Linked DNA regions of Homo sapiens: region 2 is linked to region 1. Evidence: promoter capture Hi-C in 16 types of primary human blood cells and fetal thymus (Javierre and others, 2016). All regions are on one chromosome and are shown on one strand. Each heading gives the region's core, a stretch centred on a gene start or on the middle of the fragment in contact. The rest is flanking DNA. Distances are from core to core; before and after follow the strand shown. Region 1 has its middle 27 kb from the start of MDM1. Region 2 holds the start of SLC35E3 (solute carrier family 35 member E3).

Region 1 (6,869 bases), core at 2,592-5,091:
ATTTACAAACTGTTAACTACTAGAAACAACCTGGCATAATATCCACCTGATTCCTCATAGATGGGTAACTAGTATTATTGATTTGATTTCACTCATCCTCAGGGATTAGAGCAATCTACTTATGGTGACTTCTTGCTTGCTTGCTTTTCTTTTTCTTTCTTTCTTTCTTTTTTTTTTTTTTTGACAGTCTTCCTCTGTTACCCAGGCTGGAGTGCAGTGACAGTCATAGCTCACTGTATCCTCAAAATCATGAGCTCAAGTGACCCTCCTGCTTGAGCCTCTCAAGTAGCTAGGACTACAGGCATGCACTACCTTGCCCAGCTGATTTAAAAAAAAAAAAAATTTGTGAGACAGGGTGTTGCTATGTTGCCCAGGCTGGTCTTGAGCTCCTGGCCTCAAGTGGTCCTCCTGCCTAGGCCTCCCAAAGTGTTGGGATTATAGGTGGGAGCCACTGTGTCCAGCCAACTTCTTAATAACTGAAGCAAAACACTACATAGATGTTGAAACTTCAGTAATAAAGTTGATAACATCAAGTTGCCTTGGCTTCTCCATGTAGACATTAATAGGGATAAAGAACAACTTGTTGAATCAACAAAGATTATCCCAAACACAGGAGGAAAGGAAGAGCAAGGTAAAAGAGAACAAATGAATGGAAAGCTATGTGTCCAGAATCACAGGAATGAATACAGGATAATAAAAGAGAAGAAAGATGTAGGTGAAGGGACAGGGACATATTCAAGGAAAAGCTTAGTAGTAAAGGCATTTACAAACCAGTGAGGGAACTTAAAGATGACCAGAAAAGGGAGCTAAGCATTTTTGTGGCAGCATCTGGAACTGCCTGGAGGATGGAGAAAGGCCCCAGAGAAAAAAGTGACATATATCATGGGTTTCCATGGTGATGATGACAGTGTCACTATCAGAGCATTATGACTTCAGAATAGAAATGAGGATATAATAATAGCATACACTAACATCTCCCTTTTAAATCCCTCCCAAAGCTCTTAGTATTTACTCATTAATTTTCACAACACCTATGAATTAGGGAGTATTACCTATTTTAGAGATCAAAAAATCAGAAACAATTGAAATGGCCACAATGCCTGAAAAAGTATATTGCTGCTAATCTCTCACCCTGCACTATAAACTTGTGGGATAATTGACATAAAGACTATTTCACTGGTGCTTATGCTAAGTAATATGATGAGTTTTTTGAGCTAACCATTTTTGGGAAATGTACGTTGGACCACTGGAGAAAAAACTTTCTAACAAGTGTTCTTAGATTTCTTCTTAATTATAAAACATGAGAAAACAGAAATTTCAGCCTTTTCAACAGCTGAGCATTGTTTTCCAAATGTTTTGCATCAAAGATTACCTGTCTGTCTTCCCCATGGGTTGCTTTTATTGCAACTGGCATTCTTTCAGGCTTTTTAATTTTTTTTCTGGGCTTTGTTTCACTTTACTCTTCTTCCCCCCTCTTCCCCCTACTTCATTCATCTGTTCCATTAACCCCCCTTCAAACACACCCTCAAAACCAGGGATGGGGCCTATGACTATATCACTATAAAATTCTTATTACTACTCATTCTTAGAATGATTAGGACACTCATTAACCTGGAGAGGAAATTCATATTACAGTTGAAGAAGTTTTGGAATCGGACAAGCTGGGTTCTAATCCTGCCTCTGACACCTGCCAGCAAAGTGACCTTAGACCAACTACTTCTCTGATCTTAGTTTTCTCCATCTGTAAAGTAAAATTATATTTGTATGTATTTCCCAGGGTTGCTGTGAGGATAAAATTGGATAATGTATATAGAGCATTTAGCAAGAGTTATTCCTGAGGCTATGAAAACGCAGGCTTCCCTATCTAGGTAGCTCTCCTTCCACTTTCTCATACCCTATTTTGCAATCCCCAACTTGACTCTAAAGCCTTTTAACACTAATCTCCTTTCAAGGGTCTCTCTCTGTTCCCATCTTGAAGACAAAGAGCAAGAATGCTCAGAAAAGCTATGTTCACATTCAGTATCTATTGGGACCTCAGGAAGTGGCTGAGGGACTATAAATCCAGAGAACAAAATTTTACTGTGTTTCCTCCTTCCAAACCATGTGATCTTGGGTAAGCTGCTTCTCAGATCCTCAAGTTTCTTCTGTAAAATGGCATCACAATGCCTACCTCATAGAAAATTTTTTTTTGAGACAAGTTTCGCTCGTTGCCTAGGCTGCAGTGCAATGGCACAATTTCAGCTCACTGCAACCTCTGTCTCCCAGGTTCAAGTGATTCTCCTGCCTCAGCCTCCCAAGTAGCTGGGATTACAGGCATGCACCAACACACCTGGCTAATTTTGTATTTTTAGTAGAGACGGGGGTTTTTCCATGTTAGTCAGGCTGGTCTTGAACTCCCAACCTCAGGTGATCTGCCTGCCTTGGCCTCCCAAAGTGCTGGGATTACAGGCATGAGCCACTGCTCCCGGCCTTTACAGAGATCTTATGAAAGTTAAAAGTACTTATGAATGTAAAAATGGCTTATACAGGAGCATAACACACAATCAATGTTCAATAAAGTGTGACCTGAACGTGACTGTGAATTAAAAATATTTCCTATCATTCTCACTTTCCTAGAATTTAACAGTAATGAAGTAAATTCTGGTATATCCTGTGATGCAGTTACTAAAATCCTAGAGTAGAACATTATTAACATGGGGAAAATGCTCATGATCTATTACTAAGTGAATAGTATTTTATATTATTTTTGTTTTTTAAAAAACACTCAACACATACACACACACACACAGACACAAAAAGGGTTTTTACCAAACTTTTCTGTACTAAGCATTTATCCTTTTCTATTTAGGGACAGAAAGTTAAAATAGAAATTTTAAAAGGAGCTATGGCAAAAAAAAAAAAAAAAGTATTGTATGGTGGGTCCATCAAGCATGACAATGGAAGGAAGGCACTAAAAGCAGTGGGGAGTGTGGAGAGGGTAAGGAGAAGCCAAGAGTGGGGGAAGGGAGAGGGAGAAAACAGGTCAGAGTGAGGACGAGGTAAGTCAGGGCTCAGAGTCAGAGGAGCCTTGTCTTCCATGCGTTTGTTGCTGGGATTGCCAAAATGCCTGCGGAGATACAGGGTCGCGTCTCAGCCATGCAGGCCACAAACATTCAAAGTTCACTGGGGGAACTGGGAGCCGGAGGAATTCTGAGCCCAGGGGGCTTTAGATGCCCTGATTTTTCTGTCTCAGATCCACAGAAAGGGTGATTTACTTGCCTGCTTACGCAAAAGCTAACAGATGACCTAGATGGCCTCCCATGTGGCTTTCAAGTCTAGGAGACTGATTTACTAGGGTTTTGATTTATTCTCCTCCAATGAGCAAGAAACCAAAAGCTATCACCGCTAGGTGGCATGCCCCAAATACTATTAAACTTTGAAACTGGCAGAAAAGTTGGTATCTCAGGGAATCACACACACTCTATAAGTCAAAAGCACTGCTAGAGGCAACAAGATGATCATAGAAGATTTTCAGTTTCTCACTGTTAAAAACAAAAATCATCAAGCAAAACCACTGTAACAATAACAAACACTCCTTTCCCAAATAATATATTAAATGCGTTTCTCATGGACACATCCTGGAATCCCCCTGGGAAACATGGCCCCCATACCCCTATCAGTGCCTATAACAATCTCCTCCTTTCCCAACCAAAATAAACAAGTGTCCCCTATCATATGCCAAAAGCAGAAGTAGGTCTCTGATGTCATCAAAGAATAATGTACAACCACAGATACAAGATTTGCATGAGCTGAAGTAGGACAAGAAATTCCCCACACAGGATCTATTATGGTCGAGAAAGGACAAGAATGGGACCCAGGCCAGAAAGAATATACTTCTTTTGACCTAATAATCTTCTCTTTCTAAATATCACTGCCACTGTCAGGATCTCTATATTAAGCTAGAGCTGTTAGTCATTTACACCTTAATGTGGATTACTTTTCTCTGCTGTCTTTTCTCCGGAACGTTACATGTCATTGGTTATTCTACAAGAATAAAATTTTAGTTGAATGGCTAAAAAGAGGAATGATTTTAGAGCACATGAAAGGAGTACCCAGAAAGGACAGGACAGGGTAGGGCCTTGAACTTGAGGACTCTGCATATGGCTGCAGAGGGTCACCAAGCTCTTGGCATTTTTGAATGAGGAGAGGAGAGTGTAGATGGAGAAATAATTAAAGGGAAGTGCTGAAAGAAAGGGATGTGGCAAGACACATTTTGCATAATTCATAGATTTGCCTAGGACTATCTGGATGCCTAGTGATGAAATGTGAAGAAATACAGACAATTTGGTATTTTCCAACTATGTAACTCTAACAGGAAATTCCCTGTATTGTCCTATATTTAAATAAATTAAATATATGAGATGTGACAATAAATACAAGGGCAGATTTTTTTAAGCAAACACACATGTATAGACACACAAATGAGTTATTATCCCTTTCAAAGTATTCACCCATTTTAATAATGCAAACCATTTTGGAAGCTCCTCTTTTAAAATTGACACATATCTTTTGAAAACCCAGTGCTAACACAACAGCATTCTTTCTGAAAGTGGATTTCATTTGTTGAAAGAGTCAAAAGTTGGCTGGGTGTAGTGGCTCACCCCTTTAATCCCAACACTATGGGAAGTAAAGGCAGGAGATAGCTCGAAGCCAGGAGTTCAAGATCAGCCTTGGCAACATAGCGAGACCCTATCTCCACAAAAAAAAAAAAAAAAAAAAAAAAAAGGCACTGGCCTGGTGCGGTGGCTCACACCTGTAATCCCAGCACTTTGGGAGGCTGAAGTGGAAGGATTGCTTGAAGCCAGAAGTTCAACACCAGCCTGGGCAATACAGTGGGACCCCATCTCAATAAAAAATATAAAATTTTGAAAAAGTCATTTGGAGCTAAATTTGGCAAACAGAAAGGATGATCAATAAGAATGTTCCATTTTTGGTCAAAACTGAAGCACGACTCAGAAGTATGTGCTCTAGTATCACACTGGGCCACAATCCTTCTTCCACCATTTTATTAGCTCTGTGAACATAAGCAAGTTATGAAATCATTATTTGCCTCGGTTCTCTCATCTATAAAATGCAAATGATAATAATACCTACCTGATAATGTTGCTACGAGATTAAATGACATAATGCATACAAAATACTTACATGGTACTGTAAGTATACGTGGTAAGTAAGTATACACGGTACTGTATAGGGGCAAATGCCAAATAAATAGTAATAATGTTAGTAGTGGCAACAGCAATAATAGTAGAAGTGGCAGCAGCCACAGTAATATGTGGCTTGTAAACCTAAGGAGGCAATTTTTAAAATATGTAGCCTCCCAACTAGCAACTTTCAATAACTGCACCAATTTGCATGTGTATTCTGACATATTTTTAATCTTGTTTTTTTGTTTCTTAACCCATTCTTATTTAAACTCAGATGGCACATATTTTCCAAAGAGTTCCCTCCAGTCAGTGAAGAATATTCAGAGAGGCAGCTTCTGTACCAGTGGTTTAAAATTATTGTACCAATACATTAGAATTCATGAAGATGCTCTATTATCTAGACATGTCAAATTATATGTCTTGTTAATTCACAATAAAGATGTATCAAGCAAATGCCGATCATTTTCTAAAAACTGCTAAAACAGATTAAATCAGTCACTGACTAAAATAGATCTACTCAATCAATATATAATTATTGACCATAAATTTTGGGCTGTATGGTCTGGTCTCTGGGGTAACAACCAGAGATATACGGATGAACCAAACAGATATAGCAGACCAACAGGAAGTTCTTGGATTCTCGAAACTACTTCCAGCTAAGGGACACACACACACAAATACATAGGGCACCTCTGGAAGAACACTCAATACACTAGCAATAGTGATTGTCTCTGGGGAGCAATTATTTAATACTACTTTGAACTGTTCAAGTTACCTTATGCATGCGTTACCTTTTCAAAAAGTAAATAGAAGTTAAAAATTTAAACTTTTATATACAACAAAAAATGGAGTAGTTTCTTCAAACCTGCTATGCTGATTCACATCTATTTTAATGATGTGAAATATCTGTGCTTACCTCTTCACTTAGAAAATTAAATCATTCACTACAATATAATACTGTTATTGATCCCAGTCCATTAATTACTCCTAATTTCCCTTGTAAGCACATAATAACAGCTGTGCAACCCATCAGTCCACATGCCACGGTGATGGCCTGTTGAAATGCTTTGCTAAAGAATTTGGTCATGGAGGGGTTATCAGGATATTGTCATCTTTCTGGGTAACCATTTCCAAAGCTGGTGAGCAGAGTCTAAAGCCAACTCAGCATAGCCATCCAGCATCCTCCTCATCCATCAGCTGCATGTCTTCCCAAGGTGCTAAGCAATGACCTTCCTCCATGAACACTGAGGCTCATTTTCTTCTTTGAGGCTCATTGCTATGTTCTCAACTCCAGAGAGTAGTATGTCCTTCAGGTTTAAACTTGCCAAAAAAAAATCCATAAATCAATCAGCAAACATTTATAAATCATCTCCCACATTCAAGGTACTGTGATGGATGTTTCAGGGATGTCAAGAAATATAAAATGTGGTTTCTAAACTCTAAGAGTTTATTGTCTAGTTAGAGAACTAAAACACATAAAAATTCAAAACATGGAACCATACAAGTAGAATACTAAAAGTACCAAATTAAGAGGTTAAGGGGGAAGAGGCAATAATATTTATCAAATGGCTGTGCACTGTGCTAGGTGCTTCACATGTCCATTTCACTTAATCATCCTTCCAGTTCCACTTTGAATTCCATTTTATAGACTTGGAGGTGAAGAAAGTTGCCTAAAATCACACA
Region 2 (6,480 bases), core at 1,164-3,663, 390 kb after region 1:
TTGGGAAGCCTGAGATGGGATCATAGAATTTGATCAGTTCTATATTATGTGCTTTTTTTGTTTTATTTCTCTAAAGAATTCATCTTGTCTTCCTGTTTTCTTTATTCTTACTAATATGCAAATGATTTTTACAGCTCATGCAGTCCTGTAATCATGATTATTGCTATGCTACTTTGCAAAAAATAAAAACAAAAAATTCATACCAAAACAAATACAGACTAGATTTGGGGTGGGGAGGGGAAATAAGTGAGTCTTAAAAGTAGTTTTGTTACTTGCAACAAACTGTATATATAGAAACTTTGTACAACCCAGGGTGACTATTTCCAAAGACTGTTACCTATTTGTTGAACAACAGTGGGAAAACTACTTAGCCTAAATGAGGAGGAGGAATATTGTATGCTTCCATCGTAACCGTATGTGGGTAAATGGACAAGGTCTGTCATCTATTTAGGAACTTGTTTTGCATGTCCCCCACTCTGTATTTGTCTTTTGTTGTGCCTTGTTTTTTGAATGTCCTTTAAAAAACACAGCACAGAAACCCACTAAGGTTGTGGAATTACAAAATTCCTTCAACCTTAGACTCTTAATTAGGATGCCCTCAAATGGACTTGTTTTTAATTTTTATTTATTTATTTATTTTTGAGACATGGTCTTGCTCTGTCTCCCAGGCCGGAGTGCAGTGGCATGATATCTCACTGCAAACCTCCGCCTCCTGGGTTCAAGCGATTCTCCTGCCTCAGCCTCCCTAGTAGCTGGGATTACAGGCGCCTGCCACCACGCCTGGCTAATTTTTGTATTTTTAGTAGAGACGGGGTTTTGCCATGTTGGCCAGGCTGGTCTCAAACTCTTGACCTCAAGTGATCCACTCGCCTCGATCTCTCAAAGTGCTGGGATTACAGGCATAAGCCACTGCACCCAGCCAATTGGACTCCTTTGAGTCCTTAGGGAGTCAATGTGTGTGTTGCTGCTTATTTAAATACAGTTCAGTTGGAGCCCCAAGAGTGCCAATGTGCTCCTCACAATTCCCAAATGCCTCTCTTCCTGAACACCAGAAGTGGTGGGCACCTGAGTGGGAAATTTCAGGCAACTTAATTTAGTTCCTCAGTGCCTACTCTTGAAGAACTGGGTTTTCATTCTAGAGAGGAAACTCAGGGAAGGGCGTGTTGCCTATCACAGGTTCGCATACTAAGTTTTAAAAACTTTTCTTGGTGTGACTTATGCCAAGGAATTATGAAGACTTTTTCCTTGAGCATTGCATGAAGGCTACAAAGTTGGAACAGGCATGTCCTGGGTGTGAAAGTTTTAATTTCCCTACCTCATTTATTTATTTAATTTAGAGATGGGGGTCTCACTATGTTGCCCATCCCGGCTTCCAACTCCTGGGCTCAAGCAATCCTCCCACGTCAGTCTCTCAAATAGCTGGGACTACAGGCCCACGCCACCATGCCCTACTTCCTCATTTATTTTAAATTTTTTGTACCACAGTCTCTCTTTTTAATTTTATGACTGCTGAATTAATCCTAGACTCTGTCTTAAAACTAAGAATTGATGTATTGGCAGGAACAGCTGGACATTCAAGATGTTTTTGTGATTCCTTTTTTAAAAATCTCCTTTTGTACCTGTAATATCTACAATATATAATCTTTCTTTATCGACTTAAGGAGGAAGGAGAAAGGAAGAACCTGACTTCTGTGTGAAGGACCTTACTGTCGATCAAGACTGTTACTCAAAGTTCTATCTCTTAGTCATTGCACCTGACCTGATCCAAAACATATATATATATTTGTATGCACCCCTAGAGACAGCTGTATATATATACGGTTTTGCCAGGTTGTACGTTTTTTTCTCGAGTTGTAAGTGAACACAGTAGCACTCGTTTACATTGTCAAGGGGACATCTTTAGAGAACACATTTTCTCACTGTTGAGCTAATAATGCTTTGTGAATGTATGATCTAAGGAGAAACCCTTGTAGTTATACCCGATGATGCTGTCTGTTGGAAAGTAAATTTTGAATGTCTTTTTCCAAAAATAAAAAATAAAAACATGCTTTCAATAAGTTCTTTCCCCCCTCTGGCGAGGGCTACTAAATTTGCTCAGCATTTAATACGTAAAATTGGCTAACAGTGTCTGCACAGCCAGAGAGAAGTTGTCTAGCAAATCGGGTCAATGACACACAGGAAACAAACATCAAGAAAGGGGTCCTAGATTGGTCCAGTCAGGTAGGCGTTAGGTGACCAAGGGGGTCGGGGACCCAGAGGATAGGACCCAAAGACGCAAGCGTCGCGCGCCCAAGGCTCAGCGCGCCTGCGCAGGGTAGCGGCCGTTCAGCCAGCGGCTCGGGGGCGGAAGCACTGGAGCCCCGAGTCACGTGGCTGCGGGCGGAGATGAGCGGGGCGTGGGACGTGCTGCGGCGTCCTAGCTGGCTTACAGGGCGGCGGCGGGGTGTGTGTCCTCTGTTAAGAGTGCTACTCGCCCGGGGTTGATCTGTGCATGCCACTCCTGGGTCAGACGGTGAGGTCGGCGTCTGCGAGGACGCGGCGGTGGAGTAGAAGGGCAGCCGGAGACAGGCCCGGCGCCCCTTCCGAGGCTAGACGGCCCCAGCTTCGCGGGGATCATGGCATTGCTGGTGGACCGAGTGCGGGGCCACTGGCGAATCGCCGCCGGGCTCCTGTTCAACCTGCTGGTGTCCATCTGCATTGTGTTCCTCAACAAATGGATTTATGTGTACCACGGCTTCCCCAACATGAGCCTGACCCTGGTGCACTTCGTGGTCACCTGGCTGGGCTTGTATATCTGCCAGAAGCTGGACATCTTTGCCCCCAAAAGTCTGCCGCCCTCCAGGCTCCTCCTCCTGGCCCTCAGCTTCTGTGGCTTTGTGGTCTTCACTAACCTTTCTCTGCAGAACAACACCATAGGCACCTATCAGCTGGCCAAGGCCATGACCACGCCGGTGATCATAGCCATCCAGACCTTCTGCTACCAGAAAACCTTCTCCACCAGAATCCAGCTCACGCTGGTGAGTAGCTTCAGCTTCCCAAGGCGCCGCTCTCCCGACCCACCTCCTGCACTGGCCCCGGGAAATTCGAACGCACACTGGTCTTTCCCTTCATCTTGAAATCCACAAATGAGTCATCTGTGGGCATGTGAACTTTTAGGCTTATTTTAGGGAGGGGGAAAAGGCCATCTTGTCAGCCCAGAAGAGTGGGCATGTGTGAATTTTAGTAGCTGCCATTTGATGGAAATCGTTAAATGCTGTGATCGATAAGAAAAAAAGCTGTATTGGGTGGTACAGTCCAGTGTTATCAGAATATCTGCAAAAGCTCAAACAAAAACAGCCTTTCTCCCCCAGGGGAATCAAATCGTGTATGATAAAACGTGAAAAGATGTAGCATAAAGTAGGTCTCAAAACGTCTGCAGCACCATACTTTAGAGCTGTCTGCATCTTTAAATAAAAGGAGGTGGACTCAATTTTAGCACTTAGTAACTTATTTAAGGTCTTTTTCTTTTTTTTTTTTTTCTTTTTGAGACGGAATTTCACTCTTGTTGCCCAGGCTGGAGTGCAATGGCACGATCTCGGCTCACCGCAACCTCCGCCTCCCGGGTTTAAGCGATTCTCCTGCCTCAGCCTCCCGAGTAGCTGGGATTACAGGCATGCGCCACCACGCCCGGCTAATTTTGTATTTTTAGTAAAGACGGGGTTTCTCCATGTTAATCAGGCTGGTCTCGAACTCTGACCTCAGGTGATCTGCCCGCCTTGGCCTCCGAAAGCGCTGGGGTTACAGTGGTGAGCCACCGTGCCTGGCCTTATATTTAAGGTCTTTATGCTTTTATTGTTTTATATTTATGCTTATGCTGTTTAGACACTAGTTTGGGGATCCATTTACTCACCTTTGTATTCATGTGGTATTTTCTTGCAAAGTGCAATATATTTACCACAAATTTAGAATGGAATTAAATGTGAATATCAATATAGATTTGTCATATTTCACGTTTAGGAAATAGGATTAACAACTAGTTTTCCCAAGTCAAAACAGAAAACATTTATACAGGTTCATTGTTTCCCAGTTATGTGTTTATCATTAGCCTTGTAAGACATTGTGAAAGGAATACTAAATTTTTGTCTCTTGAATTTAATCTGAACAACATTTACCTCTTTTTCGTTACAGATTCCTATAACTTTAGGTGTAATCCTAAATTCTTATTACGATGTGAAGTTTAATTTCCTTGGAATGGTGTTTGCTGCTCTTGGTGTTTTAGTTACATCCCTTTATCAAGTGGTTGGTAATTTTTTTTTCTTTATGTGCCTTTTTAGCAGATTTCATAAATTTTGAAGCTGTATTCCAAGGTTTAGAAAATACAGTATAGAGACAATAGACTGTTGGGAAGAAAGCATAATTGCATAAGTTGTCTGACTCAAGGTGAAGAGAAGAAAGGAGACAGAGAAACTTGGGTGTGTGATGCTCACCAAATACCTACCTGTTTGTAAGTGTATAATATCCATGCTTAACAGTCTCAGCTTGGGGTGAAGTTATTTTCTGGGAAATCTTTACAAAATACCTAGTAAGACTTTTTACTTCCTAAGTTTGTTATGTTTTCTGTTTACTCTTTACTTTTAACATTGTTGTGAAGGAGTGAGTATACTTCCAGAAATCTGAACAGTAATGAAAAATTTCAGATTTTTAGATGTTTTTGCCTCAAAAATTATACTGCTGTTACAACTTGTTTATTGGCTTTTAATAATGTGTCTAATATAGATTATTACAATATTATACTCTATATTAATAAATATAGAGTAATTTATATTAATGAATATTTTTCCATTTGTGCAAGCGCAGTGCCTTGCCTATAGCAGATATTCATTAAAAATATGTTCATGGATTCACTTACTTCATTACCATAAAATCCTAACAAGTATGGTTTTTGATTCTTATTTAGTGGAGAAAAAATAACTTGCTGTAGGGGACAGTGAAACGGTATTCTCTCTATACTGAAAACCTTGGTCTGGAAATTCTGGGTGTGCCTGCATGGGGAATCAAAGCCAAAATGTGTAACCAATTTTATTTTTTTCACAAACATCCACTGGTTATTAAACTAAGGCATTCTTGTTTGAAATTTTAGGAGTTCAGTAATAGAGCCCTGGCATCTTAAACATTCTAGTAGTGATCATGTCAGAGACAGTATTTGAAAATATTCTGCAGTGAAATACATTTTCTAGTGGCAGAGAAGCAGTTTAAATAAAAGAAGAGGCTAGTGAACATTCCTATTCATCTTTCTTGTTAAATGCACTTGTTTTTGCCTAGTATAGGCAATTTATTAAACAGAGCAAGTAATTGTACTCCTTATACGTAATAGATTCAGAGTACTCACCATCTCTGTCACTATGACCATTTTTGTTCACACAAGTCTCAAAATTGCTATAGATTAGAATCAAAGGATTCTATATCCCTAAGGTAGATATTTGACATGAGATTGACCAAGGAATGATTGTAGATTAATGGACAGTTTCTTATCAGTAAGTGGTAAAGGTACCATTACAAAATAGGTATATTCCCAAAACATTCCTCTTAAAGAAAGTTGTATCTGCCCACAGTATCTTGGGATAATTTCTATGTTGTTTCTCTTATACTGCTGGAGACATTAAAAGGAGTTAAAAGACAAGTGACCAGCTATTAGCTTGAGTTGTAGAAAGATGGTTGACTCATTCATTCGTTCAGCAGACATCTTTTCTGCATTATGTTCACCCTTGAGGATACAAAGATGAAAAGCAGCTACAGTCCAGCAGTGTAGAAACACAAAGAGACAGCTGGTCACAGTAGCATATGTACCCCAAGGTAGGAGGAAAATTCTGAGGAACACCAAGGAGGAAGTGGCAGCTCTTAAAGAGGGGCGGTGAGGTAAGACTTTACGGAAAAGTTAACAATTTAAATTGAAGGGCACACAGAAATGAGCTCAGCAGGGAAGGACAGCTGGTCTTTTCCTTGCAGTGTGTGTGAAAGTCTGGAGCATTTTTGGAGAACTTGATTTGTTTGGTGAGGCTAGGCAGTAGGTGCATTGTGAGAAGACAAGGCTGAGGAGTGGGTGATACCAGATGTCAGGGTCGTGAAGCCATGCTAAGGAAGTATATCTTTATTGAGCACGCACCAGGAGAGGAGTTCAGACAGGGACTGACTTGATCATTCCCCTGTCTTTAGAAAAGTAACTGATGGCAATGAAGGGTGGGTAAGAGGGAAGGAAGGGTAAAAGGCAGAGCAGTCAGGAACCTACCTGTACTTCACAGGACAGGCAGGAAGGGCCTGGGCTAGGGCGGTGGGAATGGACAGGGAAAGGTTAAAAGGCACTCCAGGGGCGTTTTGGGGAACATAGGAGAACCTGACTGAATGTGAGAGAGAGGAAAGTAAGGCTCTGATCCCTGAGGGAGATTATATCATCAATTATTGGAAACACACAAGAGGAGCCCATTTGTAGAAAAAAGGCACCAG

Evidence for each region. The method cuts DNA at HindIII sites, captures the fragments that hold promoters and counts their contacts. A CHiCAGO score of 5 or more calls a contact.
Region 2: the fragment with the promoter of SLC35E3 here is called in contact with a fragment that was not itself captured in region 1 in 11 of 17 cell types (naive CD4 T cells, fetal thymus, non-activated CD4 T cells and 8 more); the score reaches 9.1 in naive CD4 T cells.

The regions. Positions count from the first base shown.
Region 1 is chr12:68,355,631-68,362,499 of GRCh38, forward strand. No RefSeq gene overlaps it. Among named protein-coding and RNA genes, the nearest start is that of MDM1, 27 kb to the left of the region's middle. RefSeq lists an enhancer at 2,634-3,145. The HindIII fragment of the contact is 6,194 bases long and covers 745-6,869 here.
Region 2 is chr12:68,743,763-68,750,242 of GRCh38, forward strand. SLC35E3 (solute carrier family 35 member E3) reads left to right here and starts at 2,414. Exons shown (of 5, transcript NM_018656.5): 1 at 2,414-3,017; 2 at 4,168-4,278. The coding sequence starts at 2,616. NUP107 (nucleoporin 107) reads left to right here. Exons shown (of 28, transcript NM_020401.4): 28 at 1-2,047. RefSeq lists enhancers at 2,087-2,777, 2,627-2,726, 2,777-2,886, 3,247-3,436. The HindIII fragment of the contact is 13,773 bases long and covers 1-6,480 here.